Regions from separate parts of the Homo sapiens genome. Here all the other regions are linked to region 2. The links are contacts of gene promoters, found by promoter capture Hi-C in blood cells and fetal thymus (Javierre and others, 2016). All regions are on one chromosome and are shown on one strand. Each heading gives the region's core, a stretch centred on a gene start or on the middle of the fragment in contact. The rest is flanking DNA. Distances are from core to core; before and after follow the strand shown.

Evidence for each region. Contacts are between HindIII fragments. The CHiCAGO score rates a contact against its expected background, and 5 or more counts as called.
Region 1: a contact is called between a fragment that was not itself captured here and the fragment with the promoter of IL6R in region 2, in 3 of 17 cell types (activated CD4 T cells, non-activated CD4 T cells and naive CD4 T cells). The highest score is 6.5, in activated CD4 T cells.
Region 3: a contact is called between a fragment that was not itself captured here and the fragment with the promoter of IL6R in region 2, in 1 of 17 cell types (non-activated CD4 T cells). The highest score is 7.1, in non-activated CD4 T cells.
Region 4: a contact is called between a fragment that was not itself captured here and the fragment with the promoter of IL6R in region 2, in 1 of 17 cell types (activated CD4 T cells). The highest score is 5.9, in activated CD4 T cells.
Region 5: the fragment with the promoter of ZBTB7B here is called in contact with the fragment with the promoter of IL6R in region 2 in 2 of 17 cell types (non-activated CD4 T cells and naive CD4 T cells); the score reaches 8.2 in non-activated CD4 T cells.
Region 6: a contact is called between a fragment that was not itself captured here and the fragment with the promoter of IL6R in region 2, in 1 of 17 cell types (activated CD4 T cells). The highest score is 5.8, in activated CD4 T cells.
Region 7: a fragment that was not itself captured here is called in contact with the fragment with the promoter of IL6R in region 2 in 2 of 17 cell types (activated CD4 T cells and naive CD4 T cells); the score reaches 5.7 in activated CD4 T cells.

The regions. Positions count from the first base shown.
Region 1 is chr1:155,065,001-155,067,754 of GRCh38, reverse strand. All of the region lies in intron 1 of EFNA4-EFNA3 (EFNA4-EFNA3 readthrough), which reads right to left. It overlaps EFNA4 (ephrin A4), which reads right to left. Exons shown (of 4, transcript NM_005227.3): 2 at 739-1,025; 3 at 315-383. ADAM15-EFNA4 (ADAM15-EFNA4 readthrough) reads right to left here. Exons shown (of 26, transcript NR_176418.1): 24 at 739-1,025; 25 at 315-383. Among named protein-coding and RNA genes, the nearest start is that of DCST1-AS1, 2.4 kb to the right of the region's middle. RefSeq lists an enhancer at 2,563-2,754. The HindIII fragment of the contact is 2,537 bases long and covers 210-2,746 here.
Region 2 is chr1:154,403,866-154,406,831 of GRCh38, reverse strand. It overlaps IL6R (interleukin 6 receptor), which reads right to left and starts at 1,489. Exons shown (of 10, transcript NM_000565.4): 1 at 1,118-1,489. The coding sequence starts at 1,202. It overlaps IL6R-AS1 (IL6R antisense RNA 1), which reads left to right and starts at 268. Exons shown (of 2, transcript NR_147855.1): 1 at 268-393; 2 at 2,875-2,966. RefSeq lists an enhancer at 359-965 and silencers at 1,205-1,354, 1,555-1,684. The HindIII fragment of the contact is 4,036 bases long and covers 1-2,823 here.
Region 3 is chr1:154,957,099-154,959,798 of GRCh38, reverse strand. PYGO2 (pygopus family PHD finger 2) reads left to right here. Exons shown (of 3, transcript NM_138300.4): 3 at 1-2,700. The coding sequence ends at 1,020. Among named protein-coding and RNA genes, the nearest start is that of PBXIP1, 2.4 kb to the right of the region's middle. RefSeq lists an enhancer at 15-514. The HindIII fragment of the contact is 1,034 bases long and covers 919-1,952 here.
Region 4 is chr1:155,135,442-155,138,141 of GRCh38, reverse strand. SLC50A1 (solute carrier family 50 member 1) reads right to left here and starts at 2,290. Exons shown (of 6, transcript NM_018845.4): 1 at 2,151-2,290; 2 at 1,766-1,843; 3 at 1,191-1,314; 4 at 420-581; 5 at 44-163. The coding sequence starts at 2,230. RefSeq lists a silencer at 2,250-2,489. The HindIII fragment of the contact is 2,419 bases long and covers 213-2,631 here.
Region 5 is chr1:155,001,522-155,004,221 of GRCh38, reverse strand. It overlaps ZBTB7B (zinc finger and BTB domain containing 7B), which reads right to left and starts at 1,420. Exons shown (of 3, transcript NM_001256455.2): 1 at 1,279-1,420. RefSeq lists silencers at 152-271, 1,982-2,171, 2,282-2,521. The HindIII fragment of the contact is 14,435 bases long and covers 1-2,700 here.
Region 6 is chr1:154,975,953-154,978,814 of GRCh38, reverse strand. It overlaps CKS1B (CDC28 protein kinase regulatory subunit 1B), which reads right to left. Exons shown (of 3, transcript NM_001826.3): 2 at 701-828; 3 at 1-90. The coding sequence ends at 38. Among named protein-coding and RNA genes, the nearest start is that of MIR4258, 1.7 kb to the right of the region's middle. The HindIII fragment of the contact is 2,679 bases long and covers 12-2,690 here.
Region 7 is chr1:155,018,264-155,020,963 of GRCh38, reverse strand. ZBTB7B (zinc finger and BTB domain containing 7B) reads right to left here. Exons shown (of 3, transcript NM_001256455.2): 3 at 2,441-2,700. DCST2 (DC-STAMP domain containing 2) reads left to right here. Exons shown (of 15, transcript NM_144622.3): 15 at 2,204-2,437. The coding sequence ends at 2,420. Among named protein-coding and RNA genes, the nearest start is that of DCST2, 14 kb to the left of the region's middle. The HindIII fragment of the contact is 1,168 bases long and covers 697-1,864 here.

The DNA of each region.
Region 1 (2,754 bases), core at 229-2,728, 660 kb before region 2:
AGCTACTCCGGAGGCTGAGGCAGGAGAATGGCGTGAACCAGAGAGGCGGAGCTTGCAGTGAGCTGAGATCGAGCCACTGCACTCCAGCCTGGGCAACAGAGCGAGACTCCGTCTAAAACCAAAACAAAACAAAACAGAAGTGGGGAGAGGATGGTGCAGTAGAAGCTCCCTCAAGGCTAAATGGGGAGAAGAGACCACAGCTTGAAGCTTCACCAGGACCCCTGGAGTCTGATCCTCCTAGATTCTTCTCACTCCTTCCCTCCTTCCCAAGGCCCCACATTAGCCAGTAGGGTCCATGCTCCCAACCCACTTACTCCTCTCCTTGCAGCAGACAGACACCTGGAGCCTCAAGCACTGGCCAGAACTCTCTGGAGTGGGCACCGCTGGGTAGTGGGAAAGTGGGAAAAAGTTAGCACAGGGAGTCACCCCTTTGTATGCCTCAGACTGTTTCAGACCCTCCCAGGTTTTCTTCTCTCCAGGTCCCTGGAAAGCGTTTCCTTACTTTGGGGCCACACCCATGTATCAGGCCCCATCCAGTCCTCTCATCTCCCTGGCCCCCTTTCCTAGCTCCTCCTACTTTCTCCTTTCTAGACATTTCCCTCCTCAGTCCTGAGTTCAGCCCATACCTCAACCCGATGTACATTAGAGACCCAGCCCCCTCCTCCTTCCAGGCCTCTCCTTCCCCCTCCCTACCCTTCTGGTACACAAGAGGTGTCCAGTGTGCCCTTGGCCACTCACAGATGTAGTAGTAAGTCTCTCCAGGTAAGAACTCAAAGCCGAGGGAGAAGGGTGTGAAGCGCTGAATCTTCTCTGAGAATTGAACATGGCCAAAGGGCAGGGAGCACACCCAGCGCTTGTAGGCCCGGGGGCCCTCTGCCTGGCAGGACTCATAGCCTGGCCAGTCCACCATGTACAAAGCAAACGTCTCGGGGCCCTCAGGGGGCCCTGGGCCTTCGTAGTGGGGGCAGACAATGTCTAGGTAATCGTTGAGGCCCAGCTCCACCACGGCGTCTCCTCGAAGCAACCTGCAGGCATAACGCAGGGGTGGGCTGAGGAGTGGAGGGCACCACGCCATGGCCATGGATGCCAGAGACACCCCTTCTCAGAGGCCCCTGCCAGCCTCTCCTCCACCCATGTGCGATGGAGCAGCTCAGGAAGGCCCGAGGTTCCCAGACTGACAACTCTTGAGAGACAAAGAGAGTGCAAGAAATGGATGAGATGATCGATTCACAGGTTCCGAGAGGCTAAGACCTGCAGTGCCCATAACCACACAGCTTAGATGTGAGAAGGAGGGTCACCACACCCTGTCCTACAGGCTGGAGCTGCCACACACCTCTCTAGCTCCAGTGCCCAACACTCAATGTGGTATAGCACCAGGCTTGATCAATGTCAGGTGGATGGATGCTGTGAAGAAGCTGGGCAGAGAGGCAGGAGGTACAGTTGCACACAGTGCAGCTGCAGACACAGAGGTGGAAACAGGGGTTGGGAAAGGTCTCCTCAAACAGATATAAAGTGAGGAACACTGTCCTTTAGACTGACTTCAACCCAAGGGTGAAAAGAATGTCACGGTAAAAAAAGAATGAGGGAGGCCAGGTGTGGTGGCTCACATCTGAATCCCAGCACTTTGGGAGGCCGAGGTGGGAGGATCGCTTGAGGCCAGGAGTTCAAGACCAGCCTGGGCAACATGGTGAGACTGTCTCTACCATAAATAAATAAATAGGCTGGGCGCGGTGGCTCACGCTTGTAATCCCAGCACTTTGGGAGGCTGAGGCGGGCGGATCATGAGGTCAGGAGATCAAGACCATCCTGGCTAACACGGTGAAACCCCGTCTCTACTAAGAATATAAAAAGAAAACTAGCCGGGCGTGGTGGCGGGCACCTGTAGTCCCAGCTACTTGGGAGGTTGAGGCAGGAGAATGGCGTGAACCCGGGAGGCGGAGCTTGCAGTGAGCCGAGATTGCGCCACTGCACTCCAGCCTGGGAGACAGAGCGAGACTCCATCTCAAAAAATAAATAAATAAATAAATAAATAAATAAATAAATAAATAAATAAAGGCCATGAGTGGTGGTGCACTCCTGTAGTCCCAGCTACTTGGGAGGCTGAGGCGGGAGGATCCTTAGAGTCCGCAAGTTCCTGTAGTGAGCTATTATGCCACCGCACTACAGCCTGGGTGACAGAGCAAGACCCTGTCTCTAAATTCTAAAAATTAAAAAAAAAAAAAAAAAAAGAATGAGGGAGTGGGTGCTAGGTGCCTCCCTTTTTTGGCCAGGAGGAGCAAGTGCCAGGCATGGGGGGAGTCCACATACTACCCAGTCTTCAGTCTTCTCAGGACTCCCTTCCCCACCTCTTGGGAGCTGCCTGGGGAAGCCAGCACAGGTGGGAAGGGCTGGAAGGGGCTGCTCCCCACAGTACTGAATGCTGCATGAACCACCCCCCATACCACAAACACAGCGAAGCATGACTTAGGAAAAGCCTCCAGTGGGTGGTCCAAGGACGACCTGTATCAGTTCTGATTAGAAATGAAGATTCCTGGGCTCAGCCAGCCCAGACTTACTAGAACGCAAGCTGAGCAAGGACAGGGCCTTGGTAAGTTTTGTTCTACTGCATCCCCCGTGCCTGGAAAAGTGCCCAGCACAGGACAGTGTTCAATAAATATTTGTGGATTGAATGAATGAGCCAGAAACCTTAAGATTGGGGGGTGAGAAACCTGAATTTTTAACAGGTCCTCCAAGTGATTCAGAAGCTTTGGTCTG
Region 2 (2,966 bases), core at 240-2,739:
ATGGAATCCCTTCTTTTTTTCTTCCAATCATAAGGACCACAACCATCCAAAAAGCAAAGAGAGCCTCAGACACTCCAGCTCAGCCTCTAGTTGCAGAAAGTCACCTCCTCAAAGGGAGAGATCAGTGTTCACCTAGGACTGGAATTCAGTGTGATCTAGTGGTTGAAAGTCTTAGCCTTCAGCCTCCCCAGCCTGTCAGCTGTTCCAGAAGCCTGTCAGCTGCCCCTTAGTTTTCTGCTGTGTCCTCAAAGAAGCACTGGGACCCTAAAATAAACCTCTGGAGAGCCAGTTGCCCAACTCTTCCAGAAGAGAGACTAGACACGCAGCTGGGCATGCGGCCAGAGCCCAAGAAAAGCCTGGTTTGCCAGGGGCAGATTACAGTCAACGGGAGCAGTAAGTGCCTCTGCCCTCTCCCTCACGGGTCCTTCTCTTTTCTAGAGGGGAGTCCAGCACGTGCCAGCCCCAGGAGGTCTCACTCCCTTGCCAGCCTCCCGACTCAATTCCCAGGACTGGGGCACTTGGCTTCCCAGAGTTGGTGGCTGCCAAAGTGACTCCGTGCAGCGGGAAGATCCGTGACTCAGCGCCCGTGATGTCAGTCCCTTCATAGTCAGGGCACTGTCATCCACACATGCACCCGCGGGGGTGGGGGGAGGACCAGGCGAGGTGGACCCCCAATGCAGAGGGAGAAGAGGGGCGCTGGTACAAAGGACTCCCCAGGCGGGTACATCACCCCGCTGGGGCGCGCCCTCTCGGGCAGTCTCCCCTTAGAGTAACCTGGGACGCGGTTGTGTAAAGGCTCCTGGGGGCACTGGGAAGGAAGCTCGAGAGTCAGGTTTGCAAGGACACAGTCCTGTACACAGACCGCAGGGTTCCCGCACAGCTTCACCGGGCATTCCGGGGAGCGCTCCGGACCAAGGGAGCAAGCGCAGCAGGGGGCGCAAGAGCCACTACCCGCGACCACACAGCTAGGTACCCGCGGGGCCTCAAGGCAGCCACAGAAAAGGGGATCCGTCGCACCTCCTTTCCTCCCTCCAGCCTCCCACAGACTGCGGTGACCAAGGCGGTTTCCCCCAGCCGCTAGCTGCCCCAGCCCTCCAGGTGCGCCCGAAGCCCTTACCCTGCGCAGGGCAGCGCCTTGGGGCCAGCGCCGCTCCCGGCGCGGCCAGCAGGGCAGCCAGCAGCGCGCAGCCGACGGCCAGCATGCTTCCTCCTCGGCTACCACTCCATGGTCCCGCAGAGGCGGACAGGCTAATGGGAACCGGGCGGCAGGGGTGGCAGGGGCGGGGCGGGGCGGTGGGCGGGCAGGCGGGCTCAGGCCCCGGGGGCAGCCCCCATCCGCAGGAGCCCGGCTCTCTACACACACTGCGAGTCCCTCGGCCCCGCGCCGCGCTCGGCTCCTCTCCCTCTGGCCCGGCTCAGTGTCAGTGCGACTTCCCACTCGCACATGACTCAGAGCGGCGGACGGTCCTGGCAACGCAGGAAAACATTTGAGGAACTCGCGCTGGAGCGTCTCTGGGCCGTCCCAGGGTGCGGTTACGAAAGCCGGAGCGGATGGCGCAACAGCCCCGCGCACCGGCCGACCGAGGGGGTGGCTTCCTGCCACAGCGCCGCACCTGAGCGGGGAGAACAGGGGACCGCCAGCCCCACCAGAGCCCTTCCTCCCGGTTCTGTTGATGAGAAAAGGGCGTATCAGCCACCAGTGGGCAGTGGCCTAGTTTTGATTTTTGGTTTCGTGAACGGGATTACGCTGTGAAAGGCACACCTGGAGAGCCCTCGAGGAGGCGATGTTCCTCTTACCCTTAGGGTAAAACAGTGCTTGGTAGCCCGGTTGCCCACTGGAATCAGCCAGGAGCCCTAAAACCCACCAATGTCTGGGTCGGGTCTCCAGAGATTCTGATTTCATCGGTCTGGGGTGAGGCTTGGGCATCGGAAGACTCACCACCGTAAAGGCACAGTCTTTCTGCCCAGCTGCTCCTCGCAGGCTGCAGCAGAGGCAAGGAAACGGTTTGGACTTTGCAGTCAGATAGACCTGGGTCCCCATTTAGACCTACCATCTACTGTGTCTGTGACTTCGGTTCAGAATCTGAGTCTCCATTTCCTCATCTGTCAGAGATAAGAAAGCCTATGCTGCCCAGGGTTATTAGGAAGGTTCTGTGGATGGCACCTAAACACCTGACACACGGTCTGGGCCACACGTGCTCAGTAGACATCAGAACGTTCATGGCTGCCCTCCTGACTTGACAGACAGACACTAACACCAGGGGCAGTGGCTCACGCCTGTAACCCCAACACTTTGGGAGAGCCGGGTGGGTGGATTGCTTCAGTCCAGGAATTCTAGACCAGCCTGTGTAACAAAGTGAGACCCCCATTTCTATAAAAAAATTTAAAAATTAGCTGGGTGTGGTGGTACACACCTATAGTCCCAGCTACTAGGGAAGCTGAGGTGGGAAAATTGCTTGAGTCCGGGAGATCCAGGGTACAGTGAGCCGTGATTGGGGGCTGCTACTCCAGCCTGGATGACAGTGAGACCCTGTCTGGAAAGAAAAAAAAAAAAAGAAAAGAAAGAAAGAAAAGGAAGGGAGGAGGGAGGGAGGGAGGGAAGGAGGGATAGAGGGGAAGGAAGGAAAGGAAGGAGAGAAAAAAAGAAAGAAACAAGCACCTGGCTTTTGAGCAACCACAAGGACCTTGAAGGGGACCATCTGTCCGTCCCTTGGAGGGGAACTCTCTCAAGGACCCCCACAGAGCCTAAAGCTGATAGGATGGCCTCATAGCTGAATCTGGAGGGAAAGAAAAATGCTGAAATAAAGTTTAGGCTGAGAAGCTTCTAGACCAGCAACTGCTCATTAGAATGTGTTTTTCTACCTTTGGTTTCAGGCCAATCCTAACCCAGATCAAAGATCCTGGGACAGCTGGAACAGGCATGGCCTAATGGAACTCCCAAGTGGACAGGGCCAGGCATGGACGGA
Region 3 (2,700 bases), core at 186-2,685, 550 kb before region 2:
ATGGTGGATCACCTGGTTGCATCCAACCCTTTTGAAGATGACTTCGGAGCCCCCAAAGTGGGGGTTGCAGCCCCTCCATTCCTTGGCAGTCCTGTGCCCTTCGGAGGCTTCCGTGTGCAGGGGGGCATGGCGGGCCAGGTACCCCCAGGCTACAGCACTGGAGGTGGAGGGGGCCCCCAGCCACTCCGTCGACAGCCACCCCCCTTCCCTCCCAATCCTATGGGCCCTGCTTTCAACATGCCCCCCCAGGGTCCTGGCTACCCACCCCCAGGCAACATGAACTTTCCCAGCCAACCCTTCAACCAGCCTCTGGGTCAAAACTTTAGTCCTCCCAGTGGGCAGATGATGCCGGGCCCAGTGGGGGGATTTGGTCCCATGATCTCACCCACCATGGGACAGCCTCCCAGAGCAGAGCTGGGCCCACCTTCTCTGTCCCAACGATTTGCTCAGCCAGGGGCTCCTTTTGGCCCTTCTCCTCTCCAGAGACCTGGTCAGGGGCTCCCCAGCCTGCCGCCTAACACAAGTCCCTTTCCTGGTCCGGACCCTGGCTTTCCTGGCCCTGGTGGTGAGGATGGGGGGAAGCCCTTGAATCCACCTGCTTCTACTGCTTTTCCCCAGGAGCCCCACTCAGGCTCCCCGGCTGCTGCTGTTAATGGGAACCAGCCCAGTTTCCCCCCGAACAGCAGTGGGCGGGGTGGGGGCACTCCAGATGCCAACAGCTTGGCACCCCCTGGCAAGGCAGGTGGGGGCTCCGGGCCCCAGCCTCCCCCAGGCTTGGTGTACCCATGTGGTGCCTGTCGGAGTGAGGTGAACGATGACCAGGATGCCATTCTGTGTGAGGCCTCCTGCCAGAAATGGTTCCACCGTGAGTGCACAGGCATGACTGAGAGCGCCTATGGGCTGCTGACCACTGAAGCTTCTGCCGTCTGGGCCTGCGATCTCTGCCTCAAGACCAAGGAGATCCAGTCTGTCTACATCCGTGAGGGCATGGGGCAGCTGGTGGCTGCTAACGATGGGTGACGCTGGTGAAGTGGCCCAGGGAAGTGCACATGTCTCTCCCTGCTCTTCCAGGGTGATTTTTTTGATGTTTGGCTCTTGGTCCTTGTTTCCACTGGCTTTCCATCCCCATGGGGCAGAAACAGTGGCTCCTGGGAGCAGAAAAGGAATTGAGGTGGGCAGGCAGAAGAGCCTGGATTGCTCACTGTTTTGGGAAACTTACATGTTGAGATCTACAGAGATCCAGGAAACCAAAGCCCTGCTGAGCAGAGCCATTTTGTGGCTATTTCTGGAGGCCCAGGAGTGTGGCTGCAAGAGAAAAGGGGCTGGAGGAAGATCCGGAGGGCAGGGGTGTTCCCTCTGCTGATGATGGATGCCCCTAACACCTGTGCCTAACACCCCTACTGAACCCCACAGCTCCAGCCTTAGTTTTTGGAGTCAAGTGTTAAAGGTTTCTGGCCAGAGGAATTGGGGTCTTGCCATCCCTGCAATAGCCCTTTTATGGGCTCTGGGAGACAGCTTTAGGGAATAAATGGGGATTTTCCCCTTTTTCTACCCACTCCTTTGCTTCCTCCAAGACTTACCCAACTCCTTCCCCCTCAGAGAACCAAATAGCCTGAGGAAGCAGGAGAGTTCCTGGTTATGGCAGTTTCTTGGTGATTTGGGGCTTCAAGACAGTAGGTGAGAGATGCTGTCAGGACGTATCTTCTTCATACCAAAGTCACTGGTCCTTTCTCAGCCTCTCTCGTGCTTTTCTCCTAATGACCATATTTTTGCCAAAAATTGGGATATGTTATCTGACAGACCAGAATATTTGAAGTTTGGGCTGTCCTGAAAGTCTGGACTTTGGTGGTACCCTCCTCCCCCAGCCCATCTGTTGCACATTATACTCCGTGTGTTCTTCAACTTTCGGCGCCCTTATTCCCCTGCCTTCCTGGCTTGATTGAAGGAAAGCTTGAAAAGGCGCAGAGCCCTATACCTCATTTCCTCCATGATAAAAGGATCCAAGTGAGGCCCTGTCACAGCCTGTGGGTAGGGGATGCGGCGGGATCCTCATTGCCATGGTACTCAAAGGTAGAAGAGCCTGGAGTTTGTTGCTTCTCTTTGCTATTCTTTCATATCCTCTTGGGCCTGGTGATTAATTAGCAATTCTCATTCCTCTCAGCCAAAGGCCTGCACTGGGCTTTATTTGTCTTTTTTTATTTTTTAAGCACTGCCTGCCAGAGATGGGCCTGGGGCCTGATGAGGACCTTAGCGCTGCTCGTTCTCCTTTTCTGTTCATGCACACATTCCTCCATGGGGTGGGGAAGGCAGGCATGGGGTGTGGCCCTCGGAGAAGTTAGGAGTCCCCCAGCTCAAGATACAGTGGCAAAGACCTAGTGGTCCCCTACCCCCACTTCTCTCAGTTCCTGGCATGAGGAGAGAAGACCCTGCTCTGGTGGAGCTGACAACCTTTGAGGCTGGGAGGAGAGCAGCCTCTGGGCATCGTTCCCAGTGTCCCTCACACTAAAACGGCGTAGATGGCAACCCCCCACCCCCACCCCGCTGCTCAACTCTTGTGTTTGTTGTTCTGTTTGCCCCATTTATCTGTTGCTGTTTTTGTGTTGTCTTCCCCTGCTCCGCATTTTGTAAAATGGCCCCTGGGGGAGTGTTTTTGCTGGATCTGCTCCCTCTCGCTCTCTCACTCCACTACTTTTTGGAACA
Region 4 (2,700 bases), core at 173-2,672, 730 kb before region 2:
TTTCCATCTTGCACCCCTGTCACCCCATCCCAGTTGTGCTTACCATGATATAGGGATCTCTGAGTCGAAACCCATAGAGGCACCAGGAGGCAGAGGTGAGAAGGGTAGCAATGGTGAGTGGGTAGGAGAGACATTGGGTTGATTTAGTTTGAATCACCTTAGCCTGTGGGAAAGAATGGAAGACTCTCTTGGCCCAAGCACATCGTAAAGCTTCACTTGCCTAAGAATTTCCTCAAGAAAAAGGTCAGACACCCTCCCTGATCTGTCACCCAACCTTTCCTGCCTCCCACTCGCCCACTTCTACTGCCTTGTCTTCTTCCAGGGTTTGGATCTCCCCTTCCTCGGGACTGTAAGCCATAGTATTTGGCTATGAGAGCCTGACTCTTATCTCTCCTACCTCCTTGGACACCCCCACTCACCAAGTCAGCCAGTGGTGAGAGGTACATGCTGATGGTGAAGACACTGCAGAAGAGGCCCAACTGCTGAAGCCGGGCCTCAGGGTTGGGTACCAGGAGCCAAAAGTAGCCATAACCCAGGAGAAGGACCCCTAGCAGGGTTGCAGTCTGTAGGAGCACAACACGCTGCAGGGGAGAGAGTACCCTTACTTCCAGATGTGCACTCTGACTTCCCTGCTAGAGTTAATTCATCCTGCCTTCTCCAGTGCTCCAATGGGGAAGCCAAGCTGTCTAGGCCTCCAGCACTGCACTGTCACAGCTTCTTTCCCACCACCAACTTGATAGGAAAGTCTTATCCACCCACAACACTGGAGACTTCTGGGGGAGATAAATATGTGTTTTTTTCTGTGTGCTTGGCACACACAGTAGGAGCTTCATAAATGCTTGTGTGATTTAGCAGGGACGCAGAGCTAATCATCTCATTCTCACCCACAGGCCCTGGCTCTGAAAGAAATATCAGAGACAAAAGCCCTTTCCCCTTAGCTTGTTGGCTGAAGCCCAGGGCAGGCAGCATAGGCATCTCAGGCTAGGCAGAGCTACCAGCCTTGCCTAAATGGGGGCAATGTGTTCATCTCAGAAGGCTGGCTTCATAGAGGAAGGGGACCTGCAAGGCTGGAGAGGCCTTCCTGGAAAAGGTGGCAGTGCCAGCTGTTACAGTCTTCTAGGAAATAGTGTTTGCCCTGCCAGCAAGGCAGGGCGTGCAGCAGATAGGTGGGTCCAAGGGAGGGCCTCTACCTTCCGAGGGCAGTAATGCAGATATGCCAAGATATACAGGGTCTGAAGCGCAGCACCCACTGTGTTGACGACGATGAGGATCCCGTCTCCCTTCAAAGCCCCATAACTCAGCCAGCCCAGGTTGCTGCAGGGTGGAGGGGATGGACATGGCTCAAAGGGTTCAGTGTGAGAGGAGGACCCAAAGGGTCTTTCACTCTTTTTTTTTTTTTGAGACGTAGTCTCGCTCTGTCGCCCAGGCTGGAGTGCGGTGGCACGATCTCGGCTCACTGCAAGCTCCGCCTCCTGGGTTCACGCCATTCTCCTGCCTCAGCCTCCCGAGTAGCTGGGACTACAGGCGCCCGGCACCACGCCCGGCTAATTTTTTGTATTTTTAGTAGAGACGGGGTTTCACCGTGTTAGCCAGGATGGTCTGGATCTCCTGACCTCGTGATCCGCCCGTCTCGGCCTCCCAAAGTGCAGGGATTACAGGCGTGAGCCACCGCGCCCGGCCAAACCTCTTTCACTCTTGCTCCTCCTGCCCCGCCCCCACCTCCCTCTGGTAGCCTTTCCCACTACCGCAGCCGTCGGCCCCTCACTTGACTTCCGTGGTGAGAAAGGGCAGGAACTGGACGTTGTCCACACTCCGGGTCATTCGCATGTGCCTGAGGTCCGAGCTGTAATGGGGCCCCGAAGGGAGGGGTGGGGGTGGGAAGGGAGAAGCAGAGTGCTAGAGGGGGATGCCCAATGCCTGTCATCCTTTCCGGACCACCGCAGACCCCGCCCCCTCTCCCCCCCGCCAGCTATCCTGCCTTCTCCTTCAGGCCTAGTGACCAGCCTCGCCCTTGTACCCCGGTCCCCTCGACCCGATCCCACTTTGATCCCGGTTCCGGACGAGCCAGGTGCTGTGGCCACGTCTCTGTCCCCTCTCTCTCCTTTCCTGACTGCCTAGTCCTCCCCAACCCAGCCCGGCCGCACTCTCACAGGCCGGCGGAGAACATGCCAAGGGTGAAGACCACGCATGCTCCGTAAATGAGCGAGTCCAGAAAGCCGCCCGCCTCCATTACGACTAGAGTCGGATCCCGCGCCCAGCGCCCGCCGCGAGCCTGCGGTTGCCGGGACCTACTGCAGCCCAGACCTGCGGCTCTGGAGCCCCGCCCCGCGCACTCGGCTCCGCCCCCGCACGCTCGGGCCGTCCCTCCGGAAACTGCGCCGAAGCCCCACCCTCCCTCCGACGCCGAACCGGAACTCGCGCCCCTCTCCTCCGAGCGCCTTCCCAGTACCCTGGTCCAGACCTCTTCCATGTCCCGGTCAGTCCCCTTCCTAGGGCTCCGCGGGTGTGTCCCCGATACCTGCCGCTGCTCACACTCTGCCTACCCCTTGGATCATCTAGACGCCCCCAGTCTCAACGCTCGTGTTCCCACAGGCCTGTGCGCCTTCGGCGGTGGACCTCCAAACAAAAGCTTGCTAGTTTAACAAGACTTCAGCACGCTTTCCATCCAGAGCTCCACATCAGAACCTCAGTTGCCCAGGG
Region 5 (2,700 bases), core at 171-2,670, 600 kb before region 2:
GGAAGCCTGGACAGCCTGCCGGTCTCCCCCTCTCCCCAGCACCCACTTCCGGTGTCCCAAACTAGGTCAGCAGCGCTCGTTTCCTGTGGGTCAGCTAGCACCGGCGCCTCTGCCCCTCCCCTGCTCCGGACCCAGGCTCCCCGCCCCCCTGCCCCCCAGGGCGCCCCGAGGTCTCACCATGTCTCAGCCGCCCTTTGATACGTGGGGGTTGTGCGGGGCGGGGGGCAGGGGACCCGCCCTCTCTCTAAACACCAGCAGGGCCGGGGCGCCTGGGCAGGCACGTGTCCGGGCACAACCCGCTGCCCACGCCGCCCCCCCACTCCCGCCCCCACCTCGCTCTGGCCGGGACACGTCGCTCTCTTACTTGGGATGGGGTGGGAGGAGGGAGAGAAAGCTGGAAATTGAAAGCAGCGCCCCCCACCCCTTTGAATGGCAGCCTTCTGCCAGGCGCACTCTGTAGGTTCTACAACAACACAGTAGCGACCCCCACTCTGGGCTGGGGCAGGTGCGCCGGCGCCGGTGGGGGGACGGGTAGTAGGTAGGAGAATTCTTCCTAGTCACCCGCCCTCGCTCTTGGGTTCTGTGGTCATGAGCTGGCGTGGAAAAGGTAGCGGCGGGACTGGAGCCTGAAGGAAGGGAGTGGGATTGAGGGGCAGGGAAGAGAGCGGTCGTTCTATGTCGGTTCAGAGGTTGTTGCTGAGCCCCACTACCGCTGGAGAGAGCGCGGCTCTGGAAGCGCAAGAAACCGAATAGTCCAGCCGGTAACTTTCCCCCAAGCCGCGGCTCCTCCTGCGCCCCCCCAACCCCCATGCAACTGGCCTGGGGCCAATCCACCGCGCCAGGGGGCGCGGGGTGGGGGGGGGGTGCGCGTTGTCCTAGTTAGAGTCCGTCAGCGTTTCCATTCCCTCAACTCAGTCCGGTCTGGGGTCTCCCCCTAAAGTCACGAAGGAGACTGGGGGAACGCTCAGCGTCGCCTCACCCCCTCTCCATCCCGAAGCCGTCTGTCTGTCTGATCCCAGGAGAAGTGCAGATAAACTTTCTGGGGACCCTCCGCCTAGGGTTGGGGGGCATCCGCAGTTCCTTCTCTGTCTTTCATCTCAGTTAAAACCAATTCCAGAGACCCGGGGTGTTGGGAAAGCACAGGGAAGGGGAGTGGTGGGAATGTGATCTGCATGCGTGTGTATCTGGGGGTCCCACTTACAGGACGGACGAAGGACACTGCAGTAGTCTCGAGCCTAGTGAACCCCGAGCCAGGAGACAAAAGTGGGGTACACTCACCTCTCAGCCGTCGGGTCCGCTGGCTGGAGCTGCTGAGGCTCACAGTGTGGGAAGAAGCGCGTCCCCCACCAGGCCCGGGGGCTTGGGGCCCTGCTCCGGTCCTGGTCAGAAGGCCGCGGTCAGTTGCTCGCCGCTCGCTGCTGGGGGGCTCCTCCTCCGCCGCCCTCTGCCTCCTCCTGCCGCCCGCCCCCCCTCGGCCGCCAAGAGCCGTACATTCACCTGGCTCCCACCCGCCCCCCCCTCAGGGCCCGCCTCACCTGTCCTGCTGTCTCACCTGTCCTCCAGCTTGCTTTCCCCCCATCCCTCCCCTCCCTCCCCCCGCCCCTGCCACCCCCCAAACTCCCCCCCCCCAACACTTAGAAACACCCTCTGTCACTTCCTGGTTTTTCACCCGCCCCCCCAGGCCCCCTCCCTCCGCCCAATAAGGACATAAACTTCAACCCCTTCGTCCAGCCAGTCCCTGCAGAGCGCAGATGGGTCCCTCCCTCCTTTTTTGCCCCCTTCTCCAAACTCTTACTTAGCTCTCCTAGCCTTTCCCACCCTCCTCCTTTCCCTCCTTCTTTCCTTCTCTCTGTCTCCCTTCACCTGCCGCGGTCCCTCTCTCCCCCCCCTTTCTCCTGCCCCTATCTCTCCCAGTCCACCTTAACTCAAACTCCGCCCCCGGCCCCCATCCAGCCCTTTGCTGCTGCTCTGCCCGCCCCCTGCACGCCACCGCCCTGTCCGCTCATTGGCCTGAATACCCGCTCATCTCCAGTAGGTCTCGCCTTGCGTTCGTCCAGGGAGGGGGCGGAGCCGAGGGGCTGGCCTGGAACCTGGAGAGGAGGGGGGAGGGGGCAGTGTCCGCAGCGGCCAGGGAATCGAGCACCCCCTACAGGGGCTCCCTCTCCTTCAAGAGGGGCTTCTGTAGGGTCAGGACCTCAGGAGGGAAGGGTATGAGAGGTTAGGGATAGGCTGGGTGGGGGTGAATTGGGGACTTAGGGTCTTGAGGGAGGGGGTCCCGTGAGGGGCTGTAATCAGGTCAGGGACCTAGAAGGGAGGGGGAGGGGGAGCCACCAGGCCTTCGGCTCCGGCCCCTACGCCCCACCCCCTCTCGGAGGGAGCCGGGGAGTTGAGCCTGCGGGCGCCCTGCGTCCCTCCCCACGCGTGACGGTGCCCCGCGGGGAGGGAAGGGCGCCCCAGGCAAGCAGCCTCTGTGCTGTCGCCAGTGCCCGCTGCGGCCTTGGCATTGTCGGAGGGGAGGGGCCCAGTCTGCGAAGGGGGAGGGGGCGCGCCGACGCTTTTGCTCCCCACCTCCATCCCGCGGGTTCCCTAAGTGGAGAAACTGAGTCTCCACCGAGGAGGGATAGCTTGACATGAATTCGCTGAGAGACCCAGGTGGCGAGGGGTGCCTGGATGTTTTGGGATGTGTGGTATGTGTAGGTT
Region 6 (2,862 bases), core at 102-2,601, 570 kb before region 2:
TGTGTAAAGCTTGAGGCTGAAAAGTAGCTTGCCAGCTTCATTTCTTTGGTTTCTTGGGTAGTGGGCGCCGGAACAGCAAGATGTGAGGTTCTGAAAGAGTGAGGGAAATCTAAGAGACAAGCTCACACCATTCTATGTACAACCTATAGTGTATTCCACTACCACCTCCCCAGCTATCACCCACTCAGATCTTTATAACTAAATAAAGACTTAAGCATATGGCCTTAGAAGCAGACCCAGAAGTCTGGACTGTCTGCCAAGTACAGAATTGTTAATATCAGTTCTTTTGCTATGTTTATACAGCCCCAGGGTGTCCCTTATTAGTTTTGCCTGGCAGCTGGGTGTCTGGTGTCTTATCAATAAATATACTTTCCTTTGCTTATTTAGAACACATCCAAGAATGTTTTCGATGGAGAATGAGGCAGGGGCTATGATCAGGCTATATGTGGCCTTAAAAAGAATACCCTCTGATTGAATGAAAGATTACAGGAGGTTTTTCAGTGACAGGTTGTCTCTGAACTTCCCAGATATTTTAGTCTTATTTTTGGTCACTAGTTTTTTTTTAAAAAAATCCCCCACGACTGGAGGGGGAAGGAACCAGTAAACCATTTCCTATCTCCCTATTTGGGTTATACAATCTTATTCTTTCATTCTCTCAGTGTAGCAGTTCTATATGGTTGTTTTTAGCCAGTGCACTGACCTGGTTCATGGATCATATAATGGACCCATCCCTGACTCTGCTGAACGCCAAGATTCCTCCATTCAGATTCAGACATCAGATGGGTTTTAGGGACCAGCTTGGCTATGTCCTTGGGCAGCATGACATGTCTGTAACAGAAACGGGGAAGTGGGGAATTTATGTTAGTACCAGATACAGTCTCTTAGACAAATGCCTGTTTACAAGGCCAAGAAAGGAAAGAAAAACTGGTTTTTGATGTCAGAGTTTATATAATTTTATTGTGGGGTAGCAGCAGCTAGAAATACAGGCTATGTTATATAAATTCCGAGAGTATATTAAAAATACAAATTAGTGAATAATTCCAGTGAATGAGCACTTAAGTTCAAGGCACATTTTCTCCGCCTTCATGGACCTTATAGTCTTCTAGTTGATTATCTACAACATAATGGGAGCCCCACGGAGCACACAGTGTTAATAATTAGAAGGAAGGAAGAGAAGTTATTTTGTGGCGAGGAAAGGCCTTTTATGAAGTACTGTGTGGACAAGTTATTACAAAGGATGAAATGAACTATCTTGTCCTTTAAAATCTAAGCCAGGCATGGTGGCACAAACCTACAGTCCCAGCTACTTGGGAGGCTGAGGCAGGAGGGTCATTTGAACCCAGGAGTTTGAAAAAGATACAGTATGAAGTTTGAAATCTGATTAAAATACAGAAGAAATAGGCCAGGGGCGGTGGCTCATGCCTGTAATCCCAGCACTTTGGGAGGCTGAGGTGGGTGGATCACTTGAGGTCAGGAGTTGGAGACCAGCCTGACCAACAACGTGAAACCCCGTCTCTACTAAAAATACAAAAATTAGCCGGGTGTGGTGGCATGCACCTGTAATCCCAGCTATTTGGGAGGTTGAGGCAGGAGAGAATCCCTTGAATCCAGGAGGCGGAGGTTGCAGTGAGCTGAGATCTGGGCGATAGAGTGAGATTCCGTCTCAAAAAAAGAGAAAAAAAATAAGAAAAAAGAAAGGGCTGCAATGCACAATGGTTGTGCCTGTGAATAGCCACTGCACTCCAGTCTGGGCAACAAAGCAAGACCTTGTCTCTTAAAAAAAAAATTAAATCTATCCTGAATCTTATTTTCCTAACTCTGGAGGGATGTACCTTGAGACTTTCTGGGTAAATTCCGTGCTTTTCTAACCAAGGATAAGTCTCCCTTCATAGCAAAAAAATTATTACCCTGATGTGAATCAAACTAATCCACATAGTCTTCGTCATGCTCAATGAAAATGTACTAAGTTCTCCCTCTGTGCTAGTAACAGTGATTCCCCACCATTCTCCTAAAAGAAAAAATTCTAGTCCAAATATAATGAAAATAGCTCACATTCTAACACCACCCTGGCACGAAATTTGGCTTCAATACATACACCAAAAAACCCCTCTTAAACCAAAGTGCCACTGCCAAGAGTTTCATCTTCCAGGGGATGAAATGGTGATTCCTTCCCAGCTCCACAAATCTCTTATAAGCACATACAGTTTTAAGTTAGTTTAGTTCAGATGTAGAGGAAAACAGCTGAGGAAAAGAAAGTTAATTAAAGGAGGGTCTGGAGCCGTCTTGGCATAAAGATGATTATGTATTTGTCAATGCACATCGAGTTCTCTGGAAGACCCAAAGCCCTGAACTAGGCTGGGTGAAGAGACACAAGAAAAGCAAGTTTTCATTTTATGTTCTCCAACTGAGGAGACAAGATACAAACCAGGAAGTGGTCTTAATTATTACAATTAATACAGATTAGCATAATGCCAACATTTGTGGAATCCTGTGTCTTCCCTTATTCCCAATCTAGATTATGCACTTAAAATTTATCAAGCCCGAATGCCACATCCAGTGCCAGGATTCCATCATCACCATCCTTGGCAGATGGCTATCCAGTGTCTTCTAAACAATTTCAGTCAAGAGGTGCTTCCTCCCACATACCTTTTTCTTAGAGTCTCATCTCAGGCTCTGCCCTCTAGGAAGCTTTCCCCAACATTCCCTCTTCCGTTTTTCCTCTCAGTATTTTAAGTTTCATGTTCAAGGGTACATGTGCAGGTTTGTTATATAGGTAAAATCCTGACTCGGGGGTTCGGTGTACAGGTTATTTCATCACCCAGGTACTAAGCATAGTACCCGACAGTTTTTTTTTTTCCTGAA
Region 7 (2,700 bases), core at 31-2,530, 610 kb before region 2:
TTAGTCCCAGCTTTCAGGAGGCTAAGGTGGGAGGGATCACTTGAGCCAGGGAGGCTGAGACTGCGGTGAGCCAAGATTGCACCACTGCACTCCAGCCTGGGCAATAGTACAAGACCCAGTCTCAAAAAATTAGAAGATTAAAAAAAAAAAAATCAAGTAGGATCATGTGAAGACAGGTGACAGGCAGTTAAGACATCACTGGAGTAGCTTGTGGGAATATTTTTCATGGCATCGGGAAGACCAAAACTGGATCTGTCATGATGGGTTGAGGGGTGTCAGGTAAAGAAGACTCAGAAAGGCTGGGTGTGGTGGCTCACGCCTGTAATCCTAGCACTTTGGGAGGCTGAGGCGGGCAGATCACTTGAGGTCAGGAGTTTGAAACCAGCCTGGCCAACATGGTAAAACCTTGTCTCTACTAAAAATACAAAAAATTAGGCATGGTGGCAGGCGCCTGTAATCCCAGCTACTTGGGAGGCTGAGGCAGAAGAATCACTTGAACGCGGGAGGCGGAAGTTGCAGTGAGCCGAGATCGTGCCACTGCACTCCAGCCTGGGCGACAGAGCAAGACTCTGTCTCAAAATAAATAAATAATAAAAGGACTCAGAAATATGGTATGTGGCTCCTGCATCACTGTTGCCAGGAGTTTGATAATGCTTTTAATCTAATGAGTGCTGTAGTTTGAAAAAAATGTAAGCTTGATGGTGAAGAGAAAGAGAGAGTTAGCTTCACAGAGCAAGAAAGTAGCTTGAAGGGGATTCAGCACTAAAAGGGTTTTCTAGATCTAAGAACAGGAAGATTTGAGCATTTAGGCAGTGTAAAAGCACGTTGGGGAGGGAGGTTTGGGCTCCAGGGCCAGGTGGACCAGGTGGCCTGCCTGAGAAAGGAGCAGGCTGGCAGAGGCAGAGGGGGAGAGTATAGGTTCCCCTGAGCAGCTGAGCCCACTCCAGCCTGGTGGCCTCGCTTCTCTTTGGGGAGTAGGAGGCAAGAGCACCTGCTGAGAGAGCAGAGCAGGCAGCTGGGAGTGGAATAAAGGTTTCAAGGAGTGGGTGGTAGAGGTTGAAAGACCTGCCGTGGCAAGTGTGCAAAGAAGCCGACTAGGGAGGTTAAGGGATTTCCAGGTAGCGTCAAAGGCCCAGATGATGCTGGAAGCTGTAACTTGTAATGATTGCTCCAGTGCGCTCAGTTATGTGATTTTCTCTGGCAAATGTGGTAGCCATGAATAGGATTCACAGGTGGAGGGCTTTTTCTGGGCAGGTCAGGAGGACAAGATGGAGTGAGAATTGAGGTGTCTTTGGTAAGAGTGTCTGAGATGACTGGGGAAGAGGAGGGGCTAAGGCCCCTGGGGGCAGCCCAGGGTCTCTGTCTTGATGACGTGTTAGAGCAGGGGCAGTGGCCAGGAGGGAGAGCTGGCTGAACAGGAGGGACTCAGAGAGGGGGCCATGGCCAGGGAAGAACTCTGGAATGAATCCAGTGAAAGGCCAAGGCTGAGGAAGACGTCTGAGTGGGAACAGAGATGACGGTCAATAGAACCAAGGAGGTTAGGGATTGAGAGGCCAGAGAATTGGGTGGGTCCTCTAGCGACGAGGTTGCAGGACCATACAAACAGCAGGAGTCCAGAGCCGGCATCTTAAACAGATGTGGCAGGTGTCTGGCAGGCCTGAGGAGACAGCCACAGCACTGGTGGTACAGCTATCATGGCAGCCAGGGGCTTTGCAAAAAAACACTACGGGCCAGCTGGGTTTGAGAAGGTTAAGCTGCCTCCTCTTGGGAGGACTGCAAAGAAAACTGTCCAGTGGGCACATTCCAGTGTGAATGGGGCGGTAGAGGTCATGATGAGTCAAGAGGTTGAAGGGGAAGCAAAGCTTTCTTTTCAGAGGTTCTAGAGGGCCCAGTGAAAGGATAAGCTGGGTCAGCAGAGGGGACAGCTTGAGCCTTGAGCAGGTGTGACTACTGAGGTCACTAGTGATTCTGCCCTTCCTAGCCATGTGGCCTCAGGCAAGTCACTGCCCACCCCCCAGCATCAGCCTAAAATCAGAAAATATCTACAGCCATGGGCTGGTACGCCTCGTGGGCCTGAGAGAGCAGGAGTTGCTCAGAAAGAACAGGAGCTGGATCTGAACAGATGGGGCAGGGCAGGGGGCAGGGATGCACCTGTGAAGACAGAAGGTGGGTGATCCGGCCACCCCCTTCCTCTCCTCACTAGTGACCTGGATGAGGAGAAGGGGCCTCAGCAGAGGAAGCACGGGCAGCAGCCCTTACCTGAAGCCCATCAGCCTGTCAGCATTCTCACCAGCCCTGAGCCCCACAGACCACCTGAGACATCCTCCGCCACTAAAGGAGCCCCCACTCCAGCTTCAGAACCCTCAGTCCCTCTCTCACCTCCCTCTCTTCCTGATCCTTCCCACCCACCCCCCAAATAAACCAAAAGTGGACACAAGTGTGAATCTTAAATTATTATTATTTCTTCCTGTCGCTTACACCCGAGGTGGGGGAGTTGGGGTGGGGGGAAGGGAATAGGAGGGGGGGAGTGCCTCTCCCCCTAAGGCACTGACTGGGAAAGCCGAAAGTAGGGAGAAGGGAGGCCACATTGTCCCCACTTTCTGGGGCTGGGCCCCAGGTCTCCCCAGCCCTGGGCTCCCCCCATCACCTGAAATGCTAAGATGAGGCCCAGGACAACCCGATCTCCCCGCCACCCCAATA